7 separate regions of the Homo sapiens genome follow, and regions 1, 2, 3, 5, 6 and 7 are each linked to region 4. The links are contacts of gene promoters, found by promoter capture Hi-C in blood cells and fetal thymus (Javierre and others, 2016). All regions are on one chromosome and are shown on one strand. The core of a region is centred on a gene start or on the middle of the fragment in contact, and the rest is flanking DNA. Distances in the headings are between cores, read along the strand shown. Region 1 overlaps BCLAF1 (BCL2 associated transcription factor 1). Region 2 overlaps BCLAF1 (BCL2 associated transcription factor 1). Region 3 overlaps MTFR2 (mitochondrial fission regulator 2). Region 4 holds the start of MYB (MYB proto-oncogene, transcription factor). Region 5 has its middle 91 kb from the start of SLC2A12. Region 6 has its middle 110 kb from the start of SLC2A12. Region 7 overlaps LOC124901408 (a long non-coding RNA gene).

What was found. The method cuts DNA at HindIII sites, captures the fragments that hold promoters and counts their contacts. A CHiCAGO score of 5 or more calls a contact.
Region 1: a contact is called between a fragment that was not itself captured here and the fragment with the promoter of MYB in region 4, in 2 of 17 cell types (fetal thymus and monocytes). The highest score is 15.5, in fetal thymus.
Region 2: a fragment that was not itself captured here is called in contact with the fragment with the promoter of MYB in region 4 in 1 of 17 cell types (fetal thymus); the score reaches 7.3 in fetal thymus.
Region 3: a contact is called between a fragment that was not itself captured here and the fragment with the promoter of MYB in region 4, in 1 of 17 cell types (fetal thymus). The highest score is 5.6, in fetal thymus.
Region 5: a contact is called between a fragment that was not itself captured here and the fragment with the promoter of MYB in region 4, in 1 of 17 cell types (total CD8 T cells). The highest score is 5.5, in total CD8 T cells.
Region 6: a contact is called between a fragment that was not itself captured here and the fragment with the promoter of MYB in region 4, in 1 of 17 cell types (fetal thymus). The highest score is 5.5, in fetal thymus.
Region 7: a contact is called between a fragment that was not itself captured here and the fragment with the promoter of MYB in region 4, in 1 of 17 cell types (fetal thymus). The highest score is 6.1, in fetal thymus.

What each region holds. Positions count from the first base shown.
Region 1 is chr6:136,280,206-136,282,922 of GRCh38, forward strand. BCLAF1 (BCL2 associated transcription factor 1) reads right to left here. Exons shown (of 13, transcript NM_014739.3): 2 at 2,379-2,482. Among named protein-coding and RNA genes, the nearest start is that of BCLAF1, 8.3 kb to the right of the region's middle. The HindIII fragment of the contact is 1,644 bases long and covers 626-2,269 here.
Region 2 is chr6:136,262,714-136,265,413 of GRCh38, forward strand. All of the region lies in intron 11 of BCLAF1 (BCL2 associated transcription factor 1), which reads right to left. Among named protein-coding and RNA genes, the nearest start is that of MTFR2, 14 kb to the left of the region's middle. The HindIII fragment of the contact is 311 bases long and covers 1,184-1,494 here.
Region 3 is chr6:136,245,455-136,248,217 of GRCh38, forward strand. The region is part of intron 2 of MTFR2 (mitochondrial fission regulator 2); the gene reads right to left. Among named protein-coding and RNA genes, the nearest start is that of MTFR2, 3.5 kb to the right of the region's middle. The HindIII fragment of the contact is 5,491 bases long and covers 1-2,763 here.
Region 4 is chr6:135,179,928-135,182,722 of GRCh38, forward strand. It overlaps MYB (MYB proto-oncogene, transcription factor), which reads left to right and starts at 1,381. Exons shown (of 16, transcript NM_001130173.2): 1 at 1,381-1,609. The coding sequence starts at 1,587. RefSeq lists silencers at 500-609, 1,050-1,099, 1,170-1,389, 1,450-1,499, 2,549-2,628. The HindIII fragment of the contact is 5,797 bases long and covers 1-2,795 here.
Region 5 is chr6:134,142,185-134,144,884 of GRCh38, forward strand. No RefSeq gene overlaps it. Among named protein-coding and RNA genes, the nearest start is that of SLC2A12, 91 kb to the left of the region's middle. The HindIII fragment of the contact is 1,564 bases long and covers 648-2,211 here.
Region 6 is chr6:134,164,513-134,167,212 of GRCh38, forward strand. No RefSeq gene overlaps it. Among named protein-coding and RNA genes, the nearest start is that of SLC2A12, 110 kb to the left of the region's middle. The HindIII fragment of the contact is 2,604 bases long and covers 45-2,648 here.
Region 7 is chr6:136,298,002-136,300,701 of GRCh38, forward strand. All of the region lies in intron 2 of LOC124901408 (a long non-coding RNA gene), which reads left to right. Among named protein-coding and RNA genes, the nearest start is that of BCLAF1, 9.5 kb to the left of the region's middle. The HindIII fragment of the contact is 594 bases long and covers 1,143-1,736 here.

The DNA of each region.
Region 1 (2,717 bases), core at 198-2,697, 1.1 Mb after region 4:
CAATACAAATGCCTACCCCTCCTGTAAGAAAGATAAATAATAAAGGTACTACAGATAAGGCAACTGAAATAAAATAAAGTGTCACAATACTAACAAAAAATAAACCTACCAGGCTGTTATCATAGTGCTTTATGGCCTTGAAAATGAGACTGAACTGACCACTCCATATACACAATCCTGTCTGGAGTGGTACTAGATAGTATCCTAGAACAATACAGGACACTAAGTTTCTAAACAGCTGGAGCCATGGCTCTGCTCTCAGTACTCATGACTCCAGAATAAAGTGGACTTATGTGACAATGCCTAGTTCACCCTGAAGCTTTCTGTTAAGAAGATTTAAAAAGAATAAAAGATAAAGAATTGGAGGGATTACTTCAAGAAAGATTTATTAGAACTACAAGAAAAAAAAAACTTGGGCACCAGTAGTTTAACTTTTCTAAACACTACATGGTATCCAATGCTATAATTAGACCTCATTGGGTACAGAAATCAGTAACTGTCAAAACTAATTGATTTATAAGATCTACTAATTGAAAAAACATACACATATAGCAAATCACTGCATGCATATCCCAAATGTCACATTTTCAACTTTTCAATGATTAGATTATATCTTAGCCTCTCAAGCTTGTTTTTGCTGCATAGAACTATTTCCAAATTTACACTAACTTACTCAAAAAGTATTCATTTCAATAAAAATCAACTTACTAAACTTCTAACACCTTGCAATTCCCATAATACTTAAATAGTATCTCCTACAACCAAGTATTTTTGAAGGCACTTTTTTACCTACCTAGACTTTGTTCGGTATAATAAAATAGTATTTGGAGGTACTAAGATGAGTTCAGTTATAGAAGAAGTAATGGTAATACTTGGATAGTTCCTCATCAAGCAATATAAATAACAAATTCAAGATGTTTGAGATAAATGCTTATTTCAAAATAAAACATAACTATCCTCTAATAGACTACCACCTTTGTCTTCTCTCACTCTTCTTCTCAATCCCAAGTAAGCAAGAAATACATAAAGACAGAAACAAAACATAGGTTCAGGGTTCAAAAAGGCAAAGTAAGAATTCCACAACACATAAGAAATAAATTTAGCATTAACATAAGGAGATCTGACACCTTGTAGAACACAAATTTGGTTTAGCAACTGTAGTTTTGACAACATAATGAAATTGGCAAAAACCACATTTACAGCCTGTAAAGGAAGGAATCTTGGCCACGGGGAACTGTGACATTCTCTTGCATCTGATTTCAAAATTCTGTCCCTCCCAAAGTTTTTAAAAGAATATAAATACGTAATTTACATTCATTCTGATCGAATTTACTTCAAGATATTTATTTTTATCCCACTCTGAGATAATCAGACACACTATAAAAAGAAACCAGAGCTGCAAATGATTTTGGAGATCCAGTCCAGCAATAAGACAACATCCTTTTTCATTGTACTAATCAGTAAATAAAACACTATTTTACTAAGAGCTACAGATGCTGTGTTGTGCTGTATCTCCAGAATCTCTGTTCTTTGCTCTTGAGGCTTTTTGGATGGTAATTTCTGTTAAAGGATTCAGGAATTCTGTAGGCTTTTTCAGTCACCAGGATGTAGCTGGGCTTGTGGCACACGAGCACAACAGGTATTTAATAAATAACTATAAAATGAATGCATTCCCCAGAACCTGGACATTTTTTAAAGCAGCAAGTTCATTTTTAAAGGTTTGCGTTTTGCTTTAAGCTACACCTGAAACTTCAAAAACTAACGGAAAGAAAGCATGCCTATCAAATAGTTAGCAGTCCAAAAGAAATGGATTGATATCTTCTGCTCTACTGCAAAAACAGGGAAAAAGCTAAGAACATGGTCTCTGCATTTAAACTACATGAATTCAAATTCCTTAAGCTCTCTGAGCCTGTTCCTCAACTGTAAAACGAAGAAAATAACAGTACCTACTTCACAGACTTGTAGTGGACTTAATGAGTTGATGAACTTAATTCACTTAATACATCTAACACATTAGCAATCAATTTGAATTACCTAAACACTACAGTAGAGAGAAACAAGTTATGAATCTCCTCTTGTTTACATTAGGGAAATGGGTTAAGTAGCAGTCTTTCTATCTTGTATGTCCTGAGTCTTTTAGTAGATGTGTTTATAGAAATAGAAAAAGCAGGAGCACAACCTGGAAGAAGACAGAAAAAGAACCTTTTTCCTAAAACTAACTTAACATCTGACTTACTTCATACAAGCCACCAAAATAAACAAAAAACAAAGCTTCGGACCACATCATTTTTAATCACTCCATCTGAATCATCAATTCAGTAGTGACATTTCCTCAAAAAAGTCAAAAGTGAAAACTAGAAAAATGAATGCTCTTTTACCTTGGTTTTATGCAGGATCAAGAAGTCAAGTGAAGTCTTTGAGATACTGTAAAAATTCTTCCTGGAGAGAATGCTCTGAGAAATTAAACTCTAAATTCGAATTCCTAGCAAAGACAAAAAAACCATTATTGTGATTTATGTTAAATTAAATAACCATTATTTACAATGCATATAATGGGCACTGCCATAAACTCTAATAAACGCACTTACAATTTCAGGGAAGGAAAAACTAATTCAGGAAATAGGAAACTTTTAACCGTAAAAGCTTAAAATTCAACTTTTTTGTAAACCACAATGCAGTAGCGTATCATGAAACTGACAGCATCTTTTTAACTACTT
Region 2 (2,700 bases), core at 89-2,588, 1.1 Mb after region 4:
AAATAAACTACTTTAAAATAGTCTGCCACTAAAAATAATGCCCACTCCACTACATAATTTCATGCTCCCTTATCACATTAACATACCCAACTCCAGAGGCTGTGTTTTTTTATGATTTTTACACAATACACCATGGATTCTGGGAAGAGGTTTTGGAGTAGAAGCATGGGTTTAAATCTTATCAGAAACTGTGTGACTTTGGGCAACCTCTCTAGAATTCACTTCATTTTAATAATGTGTGCCTTGAGGGAACACAGATCAGCAGGAAGTGCCCGGCCCAGTGTCTGACAAGCAAGCACTCAATAAATGGTGGCAAAAATGATGTTTCTATAGTGTGTAATATGGATCTGGCCCTGTTCTGAACACTTCACATGTATTTATTCAACTAATCCTCACAACAACCCTCTAAGATAGTATTACTGCCCTCACTTTAGAAATAAACAAACTGAGGCACTGAGAAATTAAGTAACTTGCCCAAGGTCACAGAGCTAGCCCTTTCTTCTACCCCTTGTGACCATCACCCATAAAACACATTTCCCAGATATCTTGGTGGCAGTATATGATTACCACACCAGGTAGCTAAGAGTTAGCAGAAATAGAAAAGCCAAGAGCAAAGCTAGACACTAGGGTTAAACTAGCCATTGCTTTTAATATACAATCATCTGAAACTTGGTAAACACAACAGCACCTAAACAATTAAACTGTGCCTTTCGTAGGGCATCCTGGCAGCTACTTAATTGAGATTTTTGATGCTAAACATATTCTTAATACTCAAGTTTTATATCGAAGATTTCAGTCTCATTATTAAAATGTTTAATTTTTAATTATCTCAGATTTAAAAGGGCCAGAAGTTAGATATTTATACACAGCTAAGAACATGTTAACAAAGGAGTCTGTATTAGAAACCAAGACCTTCTGAATCATCTTCTCTTCTCCATACAAGGATCACGTTTCAAAGGAATAATAACCAAAACTCCAATCCTGAACCCCCTTCCCCACCAACGATTTTCTCTTCCTTTGAAGACAGCAACTCAACACTGAGAATCTGCCTACTTCAGTACTTTCCCACTTGCTCCAACTCTTCACACTCACCCCTCCATAGAATTTCAGGTTCTAACTAAAACTAGTATCTTTCCTGGAATTTTTATTATTGAAAACATTACCACACCTTTGCATAAAACAAAGCTTAGAGATAGGAAAATTCAAAAAGAATGCAACAAAGATTACTATAACTCAGTATTGGACAACAAATAGTACAAACAAGACTTTCAGAACCCTGACTCTGGAGCCCAATGCATAAATCCTGACCCCATTGCACTAGCCACATAACTCTGCTTAAGCTACTCCACCTTTGTACCTCAGTTTTTTCCATCCACAAAAATAGAATAATGGCCCCAACTCAAAAGCCTTTTTTAAGTATTCATACATACAGAACACTCAGAACAGCACCTAGCATAGTACATGATGCTTAACAAATGTTATCTATTATTACTAAGCTTTTTTGTTTGTTTGAGACAGATTCTCACTCTGTCACACAGGCTGGAGTATAATGGCGCAACCTTGGCTCACTGCAACCTCCACCACTTGGGTTCAAGCGATTCTCCTGCCTCAGCCTCCCGAGTAGTTGGGACTACAGGCACGCACCACCACGCTCAGCTAATTTTCGTTTTTTTTGTAGAGACAGGGTTTCAACATGTTGGCCAGGCTGTTCTTGAACTCCTGACCTCATGATCCACCTGTCTCAGCCTCCCAAAGTGCTGGGATTACAGGTGTGAGCCACCGTGCCTGGCCTGTTAGTTACTAAGTATTAATGTTTCATCCAAATGTGCAAACTCTTTTAAACTGGTTAATTGTTCTGAAAGAACCTAAGGGAATGAATGTCTAGTTCTAGACTTTTCTTCTGAATCATATTTTTCCTTCTTTTCCCTCAACATTCCTTTACATATAAGATACAAAATCTTTTAAATTTAACTATTCATGTGAAAACCAAAGTTGCCATTTCAATGGCTCATAAGTAAAAACCAAAATAATTAACTTTGGGAACTAATTTATAAGGAAAAAGTGTGTAATTTTGCTTGATATTCTAGTGAGCATCATCAGTCTGTGGCAAATCAATGTTTATGTTTTATAGAGACCAAGATTTTTAAATATAACCCAGAAAAGCAACATGTAAAAATATTACTGCTACTTATAAGTGGCTAAATTCTTAAAATAAGACAGTTCTTAATGAAACTACTGCCTAAGTAAACGCCAACCCAAAATGAGTATGTACTTGTTAAGGGTTAGCAGACTCAAGAGAATGCCATAGAAAAACGGCCTAAATTTAATATTTGTAAATTGTTAAAAGTGTTAAACAATTACTATCTATTTGTTCACCCCTCATTCCCTCTTAACCTTCTGACCTATCTATCATACCTGGTCTACTTCTCTGGCATTTTTACTCTCTCTCACTTTTCACCCCACCTTTGAAATGTTGGTCTTTATCTCGTCTCTTCTGTGATCTTAACACAGCTTTAATGGTGACCTATAAAATTAGAGCACTTAGATTTTTTTGTTTCTCTAAATCTGAATTACCAACTATCCACTGGACAGCTCCATTTCTCCCAGGCACTTCAAATTCAACCTGTTCAGAACAGAACTTAATCTTTTGAAAGGAGCTTCTTTCCTACAGATTTAGATTCCTTCCTCTCACTACCAACT
Region 3 (2,763 bases), core at 28-2,527, 1.1 Mb after region 4:
ATCCTTTAGTGTGGGCTTCCCAAATTAGTGTAAACCATTGCCACAGGAACCACTCTCCCCCACCAGCCAAAAGATGTGATATAATAAATTGGACATTTTTCCTAAGATCCCAACTGATATAGGTAGCCACCTATTAGCATCCTCATTAAAACAACCAATAAACCGCCGGTCTCAGCTGTTAAACAACAGCAACAACTAACAACAGCAGGCTAAATAAACTGTGGGTTGTGCACCTGCGTTTTGATTGTGACCCATCATGTGAGGTCAGGTGTAAAATTTTCCCATTGTGGTGTCATGCTGGCACTCAAGACATTTGGGATTTTGGAGCATTTCAGATTTCAGGTTTTGAGTGATGCTCAACCGATAATATTTTTAAATTGCTAAGATTATTTTACATTTTTTTCACACTCAGTCTTCAAAATCCCTTATATAGGTTACACCTATAGAAGATCTCAATTCAGATATTTTGAGTACTTAAAAGTGACATGTGGCCAGTGGCTATCATACTGGATTGCACAGCCTAGAGGATATAGATCCCAGACCTATTACTAGTAGAATATTTGGAGGATTGAGCATTTATATTTAAAGTGTTCTACAGACCATTCATCTGCGTACCCCTGCTAAGAACAACAGGCATAGAGGCTTTGCTACCATGACGGCTACCTATGACATATACAGTCACCCAAGAGTTGGGTTAGTTCTTAGTTAATTTAAATGATACCTTCCTATCTTGCTCGGCAGTTTCCATCCTAATAAACTCTTGTCCTTCCTCTCATTCCTTCATTGCCCCTGGCCATCTTCACCATTTTCGTTGTTGTTGTTGTTTGCTTTTTGAGGTTTTTTTTTTGAGATGGGGTCTCACTCTGTCACCCAGGCTGGAGTGCAGGGCATGATCAGGGTTCACTGCAACCTCCACCTCCCAGGCTCAAGCAATCCTCCTACCTCAGCCTCTGGAGTAGCTGGGACCACAGGTGCACACAACCATGCCTGGTTAATTTTTATATTTTTTATAGAGACGAGGTTTCATCATGTTGCCCAAGCTGGTCTTGAAAACCTGAGCTCAAGTGATATGCCTGCCTCAGCCTCCCACAGTGTTGGGATTACAGGGGCGACCCACCACATCTGGCCATCTTCACCATTCTTATTATTTCATCTTCCCTCTATTCCTGGTCTAGTACCCACATTTTGACTTTACTAATTTTCCTACCAAGCATGGATTTTCTGGTTAATTATTTCAGTAATATGTTCAATGCCACTCAAAAATGGTTCATTCTTTTGATATTATGTGCTCCCACACTGCTAATGAATACACTACTGTAATTACTCTTAGCTAGGAAAAAAAAATCACAAAACGACAATATTTAGAAAAACTACAATTCCATGATGACTTCAGCTGGGTTCTCACAGGTATTCTGAAATCCCTTCATAACATGTTACATTCTATACCACATTGCCCAGAGCAGTCTCCAATCTCTGAAATCCCTTCTCAAATCCCACCACTTCATTACCTGCAAGTGACCTTGTCTCTGCTCTTACTGAGAAAACCGAGAACTTCAACTTGACATACCTCAACTTCACTTCTCTTACTTAGCTCCATTCAAAATCTCTTTTCAGGCCAGGCGCAGGGGCTCACGCCTGTAATCCCAGCACTTCGGAAGGCCAAGGCAGGTGGATCACTTGAGGTTAGGAATTCAAGACCAGCCTGGCCAACGTGGTAAAACCCCATCTCTACTAAAAATATAAAAATCAGTTGGGCATTGGTGGCAGGCTCCTGTAATCCCAGCTACGCGGGAGGCTGGGGCAGGAGAATCACTTGAACCTCGGAGCAGAGGTTGCAGTGAGCCAAGATTGCACCACTGCACTCCAGCCTGGGCAACAGAGCAAGACTCCATCTTAAAAAAAAAAAAAATCTCTTTTCACTCTCTCTCACTTTCATTCTGTTCTTTAAGGCAGGACAGTCTCTCTCCTTTCCAAGACTTATTTAATTAGATCCCTTGCCCAACTACCTTCTCAAAGGCGGTGCTCAATCCTCTCTCATGTGGATCTTAAATTTCTTCCTGTCTGTTTCTTCCAGAGTGATGACAAATATGCTGAAGTTACTTCTAACTTTAAAAGAAAAAGAAAAATTCCATCCTGCGGCCCCTTCAGGCTGATGGCCTCTCTCAATTTCTTTTCACAAGCAAACTTTTCAAAAGAAGGTTGCTGATCCCACCTCCCTTCCTGATATTCTTCAAACTACTCCAACACAGTCCCATTCTCCACTTACAGAAATTCTTAAGGTCACCAATAACCTAATAGTGATAAACAAATGTTCAGCTGTTATCTTCAGTCTCTCGATTACTGATATTTAGAATGTTTCAATCACATCTAATGACATTTGCCATTATCGAAGTCCATGGCTTTAAATATCAAAACAAAGCAGATAACTCCCAAAACTGAATCTTTTTCTTTCCTACATACTAAAACCATATATATATCCAATTGTCTGAAGGATATTTCTACTTATATGTTCTAACATCACCTCTGACTCACCTCATCTCCATATTCAAACTAGTTTCTCATACTAAGATGCCCATTTATAATAATGGTACTATGATTCTTCAACTTACTTTTGCTTTAAAAAAATCTTAAATTATCCTTGACTACTTTCTTCTAATTCACCCCACCCGTCTTCCTTACAATCTCATATTACAGTTATCTTTATTGTTTCTTATTCCTCATATTTTAAGCATTATGAATACAACCATGTATTACTCCTCTGTA
Region 4 (2,795 bases), core at 131-2,630:
CGTTTAATAAAATTATGACTCATTTTAGTAAGAACATGCTTTTTTAGTAAGAAAAAATGCTTTCTGAGCTAAGTTTGAACTGCTGGGGCACATGGGACACCCACAAACCCAGTCAGCAGAAGTCTCAAACTCCTAAAAGATTAAAGGAAAAATACATTAGTGTGTACAGAGAATGAAAAAAAAATCCCCAATGGTTCTAATCTATAAACGGAAGTAAAACTAAAACTCCCCTAAAATCCCCCCAGTCATCAATCCTTATAAATTCAGCACTTATCTTCTTCCTTTACTTCTGGAGACCCTCATTAAACAACACGAAAGCCTTTGCTGACTTTTATCTCGTAAAATAGAGCCCTCAAATGACACTAAGCAGGGATACCGACCTCCAAAATCACAAACTGTTTTACTTCTAAAACCATGCATGCAAACGTGGGGTTTCCTGAGTTCTGCTAGGGGCGGGCTGTCTGGACCCCCGTGTATTTTTTTTTTTTTTTTTTTTTTTTTTTTTTTTTTGCAGGTGTGCAATCCAGGGTGCGCGCTCTGTGCAGGGAGGGGAGCAAAGGTGTGCGGTGGGCACCGCCTGGGCCGGGCGGGGCGGGGTGGGTGGGGCCCGGGTGTGTGCTGGGGTGAGAGTGAAGGACATGTGACAATACGACGGTGGCGGCTGCAGGATCCGGGAGGGGAGTGAAAGCTCCGCTGGGGCGCTCCATTAGTGAGCGGTGATGGTTGCCGCCCACTTGTATTGAAGCGTCCTTTGTCACTAACAAGTTAAATTAGAGATGTTATTTATTTAAGAAGAAGGAAAAAAAACCCTAGCCAAACAGCCTATGAATACATATGCTCACATCCCCTACTCCTCCAACTCCTAATTTCCCCGTCTCCAGAGGGCACAGTTGTAAACCTTGACGAAAATCCAATCTTCTGTGCGGGAATTTCCCCCCACCGCTTGCCGCCCCCGCGACAGTGAGTGGGAGCTGGAGGAGCTCTGGTCCCGCTGCCCGGGAGCACGCGGAGCCGGGCGACCGCGGTGCGGCAGCCAGGGAGGAGGGGAGGCGGCGGGACTGGGCGCGGGTCGGCGCCGCCGCGACCCGGGAGCGGGGTTTGCTCAGGAAAAGGCGCCGTCGCGGCCCCCGGCCACCCCTCCCTGGCCCCGGGCTCCCTGCCCGCGCGCCTCCCGGGCCTCGCGGCGCGCTAGGCGCACCGCGGCGGCGCGAGCGCCGAATGGGAGCGGCGACCCGGCCAGCCCGGCAGCCCCGCGGGCGGCAGCCAGGGCGACCGCGGAGGCGGCGGGCAGGGCGCGTGCGCACTGCAGGGGCGCCAGATTTGGCGGGAGGGGGAGTGTCCAAAGCTCTTTGTTTGATGGCATCTCTGTTTACAGAGTTTACACTTTAATATCAACCTGTTTCCTCCTCCTCCTTCTCCTCCTCCTCCGTGACCTCCTCCTCCTCTTTCTCCTGAGAAACTTCGCCCCAGCGGTGCGGAGCGCCGCTGCGCAGCCGGGGAGGGACGCAGGCAGGCGGCGGGCAGCGGGAGGCGGCAGCCCGGTGCGGTCCCCGCGGCTCTCGGCGGAGCCCCGCGCCCGCCGCGCCATGGCCCGAAGACCCCGGCACAGGTAACGGGGAGCCGGGCGGGCGGCCGAGGGCGGGGGCGCGCGGGGGCGCGCGGGGCGCCAGGCTCCCGGGAGCAGGTGGGAATTCGTTCCGGGATCATCTGAGGGGCTGTCAGACCCTCCGAGGACCTGGAGCCCCTGCCTCGGCAGCAGAAGCCGCTCCAGAGACTGATGAATGGAAGAGTCTTTGCGGGAAATGTATCCGGACGTTGGGAAGCACGCCCTGCGGCTCATTTTGCAAGTTGCATGGGGATACATTTTTCTTTAGGGGGAAAAAGAAAGCACGTTCCAGCCGAGGGCAGAGCGGTGCCCACCAGCCCCGGGGAGCCCACCAGGTGCCTGGCTTGATGCCGCGGGTGTCGGCGAGGGATCCGCAGCGTAATTGCTGGATGCATTGAGATATGTTTGGACTTGGAAGTGCAGAGCATATGGCAGATACAGGGAAAATGCTGGATTGTTTAGTAGCTGCAGGTAGTTCATTTAAATTTCATTCATTCTTTATGGAGGCGAGGACCAGTGTCAGCTGACAGGCGGCTGAAAAGCAGATTTTAGGGGGATAAAGGGGTCTCTACTTTTGCAAATTGTCTTAAGACCTGGTTTTGGAGGTTCGAATCATTTTTCTCTGAAAGGCTTTTACTTCCACTGCAAACATTGCACGCGCACCCACACGCGCCGCCGTCGCACATGTCACTGCACTTAGGGAGGCTCGCCGGGAAGATGGGTGCAGTCCCTTCACATTTTTGGCCGGACAGATGGGAAGAGGGAGAGGAGGAGGAGGAGGGAAATCCTCGTCCGAACTGTCAGTTGCTCGTTCCCCAGTCTCCACCGGCCTCTGGACTTTCCCAGCAGCACACGCCGGGGCTCCCTGCGAGCGGCGGGTGCCAGGGCTAGCTCGGCAGCCGTCGCAGTCGCCACTCGGCTCAAGGGGACAGAGGCCGGCAGCACCCAAGGCCGCTGCCGCGCAACCGGGACGCGATCCCCGCGGGCTCTGCCCCCAGGCGAAAGGTCCCTGCGCGGCGCGCACACGTGGATGCGGCTGAGGTCGCCGCGCCTTCTCGCACCCTCCTTCAGCCGCCTTAGGTCGCCCCGGCCGAGGCGCGGTGACCGGACAGACCCTCGCGAAGGAGTTCTAAGGCGAAGTCCATGGAGGCAAAGCAAATCCATTCGCCTTTCCTTAGATTGTTTGATT
Region 5 (2,700 bases), core at 180-2,679, 1.0 Mb before region 4:
GGCCAGGTGCGGTGGCTCACACCTGTAATCCCAGCACTTTGGGAGGCTGAGGTGGGTGGATCACAAGGTCAAGAGATCGAGAGACCATCCTAGCCAACATGGTGAAACCCAGTCTCTACTAAAAATACAAAAATTAGCTGGGCGTGGTGGTGCGTGCTTGTAGTCCCAGCTACTCAGGAGGCTGAAGCAGGAGAATCACTTGAACCCGGGAGGCAGAGGTTGCAGTGAGCCGAGATTGCGCCACTGCACTCAAGCCTGGTGACAGAGTGAGACACCGTCTCAAAAAAAAAAAAAAAGACATAGGGACAAATGGCAAAACTTGCTTGAGGTCTTAAGATTAGATGATAGTAATGTATTGGCATTAATTTTCTGATTTTGATGTTCTATCATGGTTATGAAGGAGAATTGGTTTGTTTGTAGGAAATGTACACTAAAGTATTTGGTGGAGATGGGCCAACATGCCAGTCACTCGCTCTCAAGTAATTCCGAAAAAAAATTTTTGGTACTGACTTGCAACTTTCCTTTAAGTTTGAGATTGTTTCAAAAATGTTAAATAAAATAAATCAGAATGGTGCACACAACAGCCATACAAAGAAGATTCTTCTCTCTTTCAGTTTTCCAAGGACTGCCCAGAGGATAAGCAGAAAAGCTTGATTAAAAATGGGTTTGAGCAGATATTATAGATTAAGTACCTGGTTTTAAAGACTGGGGATCAAGCTCTCTAGTGAGAAAAGACTTGCTCAGAGCCCAACTGGCCTTGGGTTCCCTTCTCTGAAAAGTTTTTGAAGTTTTCATATTTTTACCTCATTCTATTTCACATGGGTGACAATAGAACAATTTGTCTTCTTTTGCCAAGCTATATGAATTGTTCTGCTAAGGCCAGGCTATGATCAATCATTAGTATGAAAACAACTTTTCAAACTAAAAATTTTAAAAACGCACATACAATTTTGTAAGATTGATTAGCCCCCAAGTAAGTAGATTTCCCCTTGTAAGTAGCAAATATGAATCAGTTAGAAGAGAATGAGGACTATAGGCAGTAGTGTTGTGGATAAGAAAGAGCCGAGTCTTAGAATTGCTTGGGGCCTAAATACTGGCTCTGCCAGTTGCTAGTTATGTGACCCGGAGTGAGGTACTCACCCTCACTGTGTCTCAGTATTCTCATCTGTAAAATGGTCTAAGATAAAATACTCTCCTGATAGAGTTTGTGAATGTAAAGCACTTAGAATCACAAGTAGGTAGTATTTCCTCAGTAACTATTAACTACCATTATTATTACTATTAACATTTTGAATATTCATACCTTACGACTTAGCAGTTCCCTCTCTAACCTTCACCTCAGAGAAACAGAGGAACACCCGTGTACAACGATGTCCTTTGCAGCAATGTTTATAATAGAGAAAAATGTAACAGCTTAAATGTCTATAAATCAGTGTTTAGCTAAAACACAGTGACATATTTCTTACTGCTATGGTTTGAATGGGTCCCTATGGTTGAATGGGTCCCTCAAATTTCAAGTATTGAAAACTTGATTCCAATATTCATATGTTGGTTAGAGGTAGGGCCTTTAGGAGGTAATCAGGATTAGATTAGTTAAGGTCATCAGAGTGGGGGTCCCATGATGGGACTGATGGCTTTATGAAAAGAGGAAGAGGGGCCAGGCGTGGTGGCTCATGCCTATAATCCCAGCACTCTGGGAGGCTGAGGCTGGTGGATCACCTGAGGTCAGGAATTTGAGACCAGTCTGGCCAATGTGGCGAAACCCCGTCTCTACTAAAATACAAAAATTAGTCAGGTGTGGTGGCATGCACCCGTAATCCCAGCTACTTGGGAGACTGAGGCAGGAGAATCGCTTGACTGAGGCAGGAGAATCGGGAGGTGGAGGTTGCAGTGAGCTGAGATTGCACCATTGTACTCCAGCCTGGGCGACAGAGCGAGACTCCGTCTCAAAAAAAAAAAAAAAAAAAAAAAAGAAAAGAAGAAGAGGGAGCTGAGCTGACACACATGTTCTGTCTTACTGTGCAATGCCTCCCATCATGTTATAATATAACCAGAAAGCCGTTAGCATACTCTTGGACTTTCCAGCTGCTAGAACTATAAGATATATATCAATTTTCTTTGTAAATTACCCCGTCTGTGGTATTCTGTTATAGCAGTGCAAAACAAACTAAGACACCTATGTGATTGTCTATACTGAAATTGTAAAAAGTAAGCTTCATGTCACATTGTGAAGTAAAAAGCAAATTGGTATACATGCTATAATAATATTTATGTGGAAAATTTACATGAAATAATACTATGTATTTTTTGACTCTACATAAATAGATGCAGTGCTTAGAAAAATATCTGAAAGCATAAACAAAAAATTACACTTTTTTTGTTTTTGTTTTTCCTTTTTGTGGAGAATCAGGTCTCCTTATATTGTCCAGGCAGCTCTTAAACTCCTGGACTCAAGCAGTCCTCCTGCCTCTGCCTCCCTAAATGCTGGGATTACAAGCATGAGCCACTGCAACCAACATTAACAAAAAATTGATAACCATTTGTTACTTTGAGGGAAAAGAAACTAGATTAGAGATATGATCAAAGGGAATTTAGCTTTACTTGTGATCCTAATTTTCTATAAGAAAAATATGTTTGCATGTTATCTATATGATTAAAGACTGGTAGTGAAAAATCACATTAAAGTATTTTTATGCTATA
Region 6 (2,700 bases), core at 97-2,596, 1.0 Mb before region 4:
ATGACTGTCAGAAGTCTCCTAAGGGGCTTTTATATTAATTTCAAAGCTTTCTCGCTCTCACACCTCTTAGTGATAGCCAGTAAAACACTCTGAATCACTTCACTTTCCTCATGGAAAACCTTCAAATGCTTCCTTTGCTATCTGATGAAAGCTAAACGTCTCCCCCGTGGGATTATTAAGAACATGAAAGACATGGTCCATCTCCCTACTTAAAATTTTTTCAGCCGGGCACGGTAGTTCATGCCTGTAATCTCAGCACTTTGGGAGGCTGAGGCGGGTGGATCACCTGAGGTCAGGAGTTTGAGACCAGCCTGGCCAATATGGCGAAACCCTGCCTCTACTGAAAAATCCCGTCTCAAAGAAAAGAAAGAAAGCTGGTCAATAGAGCTGAGATTCTGCCCTAGGTCTGTCTGGTCCCTTTCTATTGCCACTGTCCCATTCATTATCCTTATGCAAGTCCGGCCCCCACTACAAGCCTGAATGTGGAATGGCCTTTCTGCCTCATTTTCAAGATCCAGTTCTCCAAGACAGCCTACCTGGATTCTCCAGATCTCCCTAAGCACCTTTTTCCTAAACTACCTAAAAATGTACTCCCATTTCCTGCCCCCCAAGTTGAGTAAGGTGTCACTCCTATGTACGCAAACACCTGTTTTCATCATACCACATATTTATAATGCACATTTTTGTTATATAACACATACAGAGAAAAATGCATGTATCATAAGTGTATAGCTTGATGAAATCAAGATCAAGCTCAAGATCAGATCAAGAAATTAACAGCACCTGGTAGGATGTCTTCCTTATGCACCCTCTCAACTATGAGCTCTGCCTTCCTCCCCAAAGGTGATCACATCTTAACTTCCAAATCAATTCATGCTGTTTGCCTGCTTTTACATTTTATATAAATCAAATCATACAGTCTGGGTTTTGTTTATGAGATCTATTCCTTGTTGTATATAGCAATTATTCACTCATTTTCATTGGGTAGTATTTCAGTATATGAAACCACACTAAATTCTTTATTCATTTTCCTATAGGTGGACATTTTGAATGGTTCCCATTTTGGGGCTGTCATAAATAGTATTACTGGGAACACTATTGCAAATTTTGTATTGCATATGTGTGCAGTCTTTGGGGTCTATACTGTGGAAGAGAACGATTGGGCCACAAGTTATAGATATCTTCATCTTTAGTAGATACTGCCAAGCAGTTTTCCAAAATGGTGCACCAAGTTATACTCCCACTGCAATGTATATTTTTGCAGCTGCTTCTTATCTTCATCAGTCACTGATAGTGTCTGTAATTACAAATTTTCCCTCTCTCTCCCTCTCCCTCTCCATCCCCCTCTTTTTGCCTAGCATGACATCTAGAAGGTATCTTTGTAAAAGTCTGGTGAATTAATAAATGGATGACTAACAAGTACACAGCTGTTTGCTTTTATACTCTTCTGTCACCTCTGAGGCCGGATAAAGTAATGGCTACAAGCATAGGCTTTTGGGCCAGATTGACATGATTTGACTTTCGATCTCACCACTTACTGACCAGCTAATGACCGTTCTGTACGAGTTTCTTCACTTTTGACATCACAGCATTGTTATGAAGAGTAAACAGCTTGACTACAGAATACTTAGAACAGCCAGGTATGGTGGCTCATGCCTGTAATCCTAGCACTTAGGGAGCTCAGGACCAGCCTGGGCATCATGGTGAAACCACGTCTCCGAAAAAGACTTATTAAGAAACAAAACGTTGTTTACTTGGTTGGCTGAGGTGGGAGGATCACCTGAGTCCAGGAGGTTGAGGCTGCAGTGAGCCATGATTGTACCACTTTTCTCCAGCCCAGACAATAGAGATCGTGTCTCAAAAACAAACAAACAAAAAAAACAAACTTAGAACATTGTCTGACACATAATAAGAGCTCAGTAGAATTAGCTATTACGATTATAATCCGGTCCTCAGGGCCTGTATCCTATTAGAGTTCCTAGAATTGGTTAGGAAGAATCTTAGAGCTTCCCGTCTATGAAGCCTGCTCTAGGCACCCGACCCCGCAGAGAGCCGCTGGACGTCTGAAGTTCCCTTTACCCCTTGTTCACTGCCTGTCACATGTTAAGGGTAGGTGCCTGTCTCCCCAGGTGGATGGCAAATTCTGTAAGGGCAGTGACTGACTTATTCTTTTTGGTAGCAGTGGTTTTAGACACATTTTAGCTTATGAGAATCTTAGCTGAATTGGTTCCCCCAAACCCATATTTGAGTAGACCTACAGCTGGAGAGCTATGGAGAAGACAATTATCCCTTTTCCAATCAATTGTCGTGCTCAAAGGCAGGCTGGCTGGGGCTCAGGGAATGTGCTGGCAGGGATATGCCCCACTCCCTTAGGTAAAAGATACCTCTGCACACACATTATTTGACAGTACAGTGCTTAGTAAATATTTGTCATTTGTTTATTGATCTCTTGTTCTTTCTTGACTTCCCTGTTCTTGCCTTGTTCTCTTCCCACCCACTTGTGCTTGATCTTATCTCCCATCTGGGTGACAATGTTTGGGTCTCCTCTGGCACCTTTCAATTCTGGAGAAACACAATTCAGATCTTCTATGTGAAGTGATGGACTATAATCCAGTAAACCAGAATTCTACCTTCAAAACATAAAAAAAAGCTTTGTAACTCGTGACTGGCCCATCTGAGTTATCTATAATTAGATTGCAG
Region 7 (2,700 bases), core at 190-2,689, 1.1 Mb after region 4:
TAAAATTTCTACAATAAAAATTACTTTCATAATATTAATATCAAAAAACTTTTAAAAATGTAGACCATTGAATTTTATTTGAATTGTGTAAGATAATGAAGACCTAAAAACTGAGAGGTCTTGTTTTTGTTTTTTGAGACAGAGTCTCGCTCTGTTGCCCAGGCTGGAGTGCAGTGGCACGATCTCAGCTCACTGCAACCTCCACCTCCCAGGTTCAAGCAATTCTCCTGCCTCTGCCCCCCAAGTAGCTGGAATTACAGGCATGCACCACCACGCCTGGCAAATTTTTGTATTTTTAGTAGAGACGGGGTTTCACCATGTTGGCCGGGCTGTTCTCAAATTCCTGACCTCAGGTGATTTGCCAACCTCGGCCTCCCAAAGTGCTGGGATTACAAGCGTGAGCCACCTCGCCCAGCAAGTTTGTGTGTGTGTGTGTGTGTGTGTGTGTGTGTGTGTGGTTCTTCCAAATCAAGCGTAAAAGCTCTCATTTAATAAACAAGAAGAATAAGGATGGGTATGGTGTCTCATGCCTGTAATCCCATCACTTTAGGAAGCCGAAGAGGGAGGATTACTTACACCCAGAATTTGAACTGTGTGAGCCACTGTACTCCAACCTGGGTGACAGAGAGAGAACCTACCTCTAAAAAATACAAACATACATATATACATAATAAAATATCCATTACTAAATCACAATCTTGATAAGCCTAATTATAAACTGCTGCTAGGAGAATATTTGCTTCCAGAGAGAATCTTTTAGATTTGTTTTTGTGGGATTTTGGGGTTTTTTTTTCCTAGAGTGCTCTATAGTCCTCTTTTAGCTTCATGAATCTTCTGTCGAGCAATGAAGGGGAGTACTTGGTTCAACAAGAGAAAAACATATATAAAATTGTTTGCTTCCATTTAAAAGGAAACTTTACACTGAATTCCAACCAACTGTGATAGATAGATCTAAAAATGGCTTAATCCTTTGCAAGACAGTTATTTTTCAAAGTTCTATTTGTCATATTAGGGTCTGGCTAATTATGTTAAAAGCACCACTGGCTGATTTCTTAAGTTCCATTTTAGAGAGTATAGTGAAAGCACAGACCTGACTTTGTGTTTCTAGTATTTGTGCCATTATTTTTTAATCTACATTATTAAGCTTAACTTTGTACTGTAATGAGGTTAATTTCTACCCACACAAGCCCATCCAGTAGCTTTTCCTAAACACATTCATTCTTTGTTATATATTCCAGGGAGATATTTCTGTCAATGGCATGTGAGATGATCTATTCACTCCATGATGAGATGCTTACTGTTTGAAAACAAATTCATTCACATGCTTAAAAATTGCTCAGGAGCAGGAACTATACAAATATTTATTGTTATTGGCCATTTATAATTTATTCATAGTGATCCAGCTGACAACCATCTGGTGCATAAAACTGAAAATTGGAAGAAAAAAAGAGTAAAAGTCCCTGGAAAAATATAATTTAGTCTCCATATGTCTTTGATACATATTCAATACAATTTATTACTTGCTAGTGGTATGAGATGCTCTATAATAATAGATACATATATGAAATTTAACACAAAGGGAAATTGACATTTTACTCAAAAATGTATGTTGAAGGACAAAGTGAAGACAGTAGTAATAATACAGTAATTAGCAAATGTACATTGGCAAAGATAGTATAAACTAGGCTGTGGTAACAAATAGACTCCGGAATACATAATGACTTACATGCAATAGAAGCTTTTTCTCAAACAGTCCAAGACAGTTGAATTAGGTTGGTAAGTATTTTCTCCATGCAGTGATTCAGGGCCCTAAGCCATCTTGTGACTCCATGGATAGAACTCAGGGGTCTACCAATTCCCAAAGAATCCGTGGATAGAATTCAGACCTGTCACTATAATTTGTTGTTGTTGTTGTTGTTGTTTTTAATTCAATAGTTTTTTGGGTACCGGTGGTTTTTGGTTACATGGATGAATTCTTCAATGGTGAATTCTGAGATTTTAGTGCACCCATCACCCAAGCAGTGTACACTGTACCCAGTATGTAGTCTTGTATCCCTCACACCTCTCCCAACCTCCCAGAGATGTCGCTATATTTGTATGGGAAAAATTACATCCCTGTTGGGGCCGGGCGTGGTGGCTCACGCCTGCAATCCCCGCACTTTGGCAGGACAAGGCGGGCGGATTACCTGAGGTCAGGAATTTGAGACCAGCCTGGTCAACATGGTGAAACTCCATCTCTACTAAAAATATTTAAAAAATAGCCAGAAATGGTGGCAGGCACCTGTAATCCCAACTACTCGGGAGGCTGAGGCAGGAGAATCACTTGAACCCAGGAGGCAGAGGTTGCAGTGAGCCGAGATCGTGCCACTGCACGCCAGCCTGGGCAACAGAAAGAGACTCTGTCTCAAAAAAAAAAAAATAAATAAAAATTACATCCTTGTTAACTTCAAACTGAAATTTATCATTTCCCTTAATTATGAATGTAGGCAAAACCACAGAAGTATTACCAGTACTTATGACTTTGTAATAAATAAAAATCACCGATTTTTAAAAAATCATTACTGTTAGGCCAGGCATGGTGGCTCATGCCTGTAATCCCAGCACTTTGGGAGGCCAAGGCGGGCAGATCACAAGGTGAGGAGTTGGAAACCAGCCTGGCCAATATGGTGAAATCCTGTCTCTACTAAAAATACAAAAATT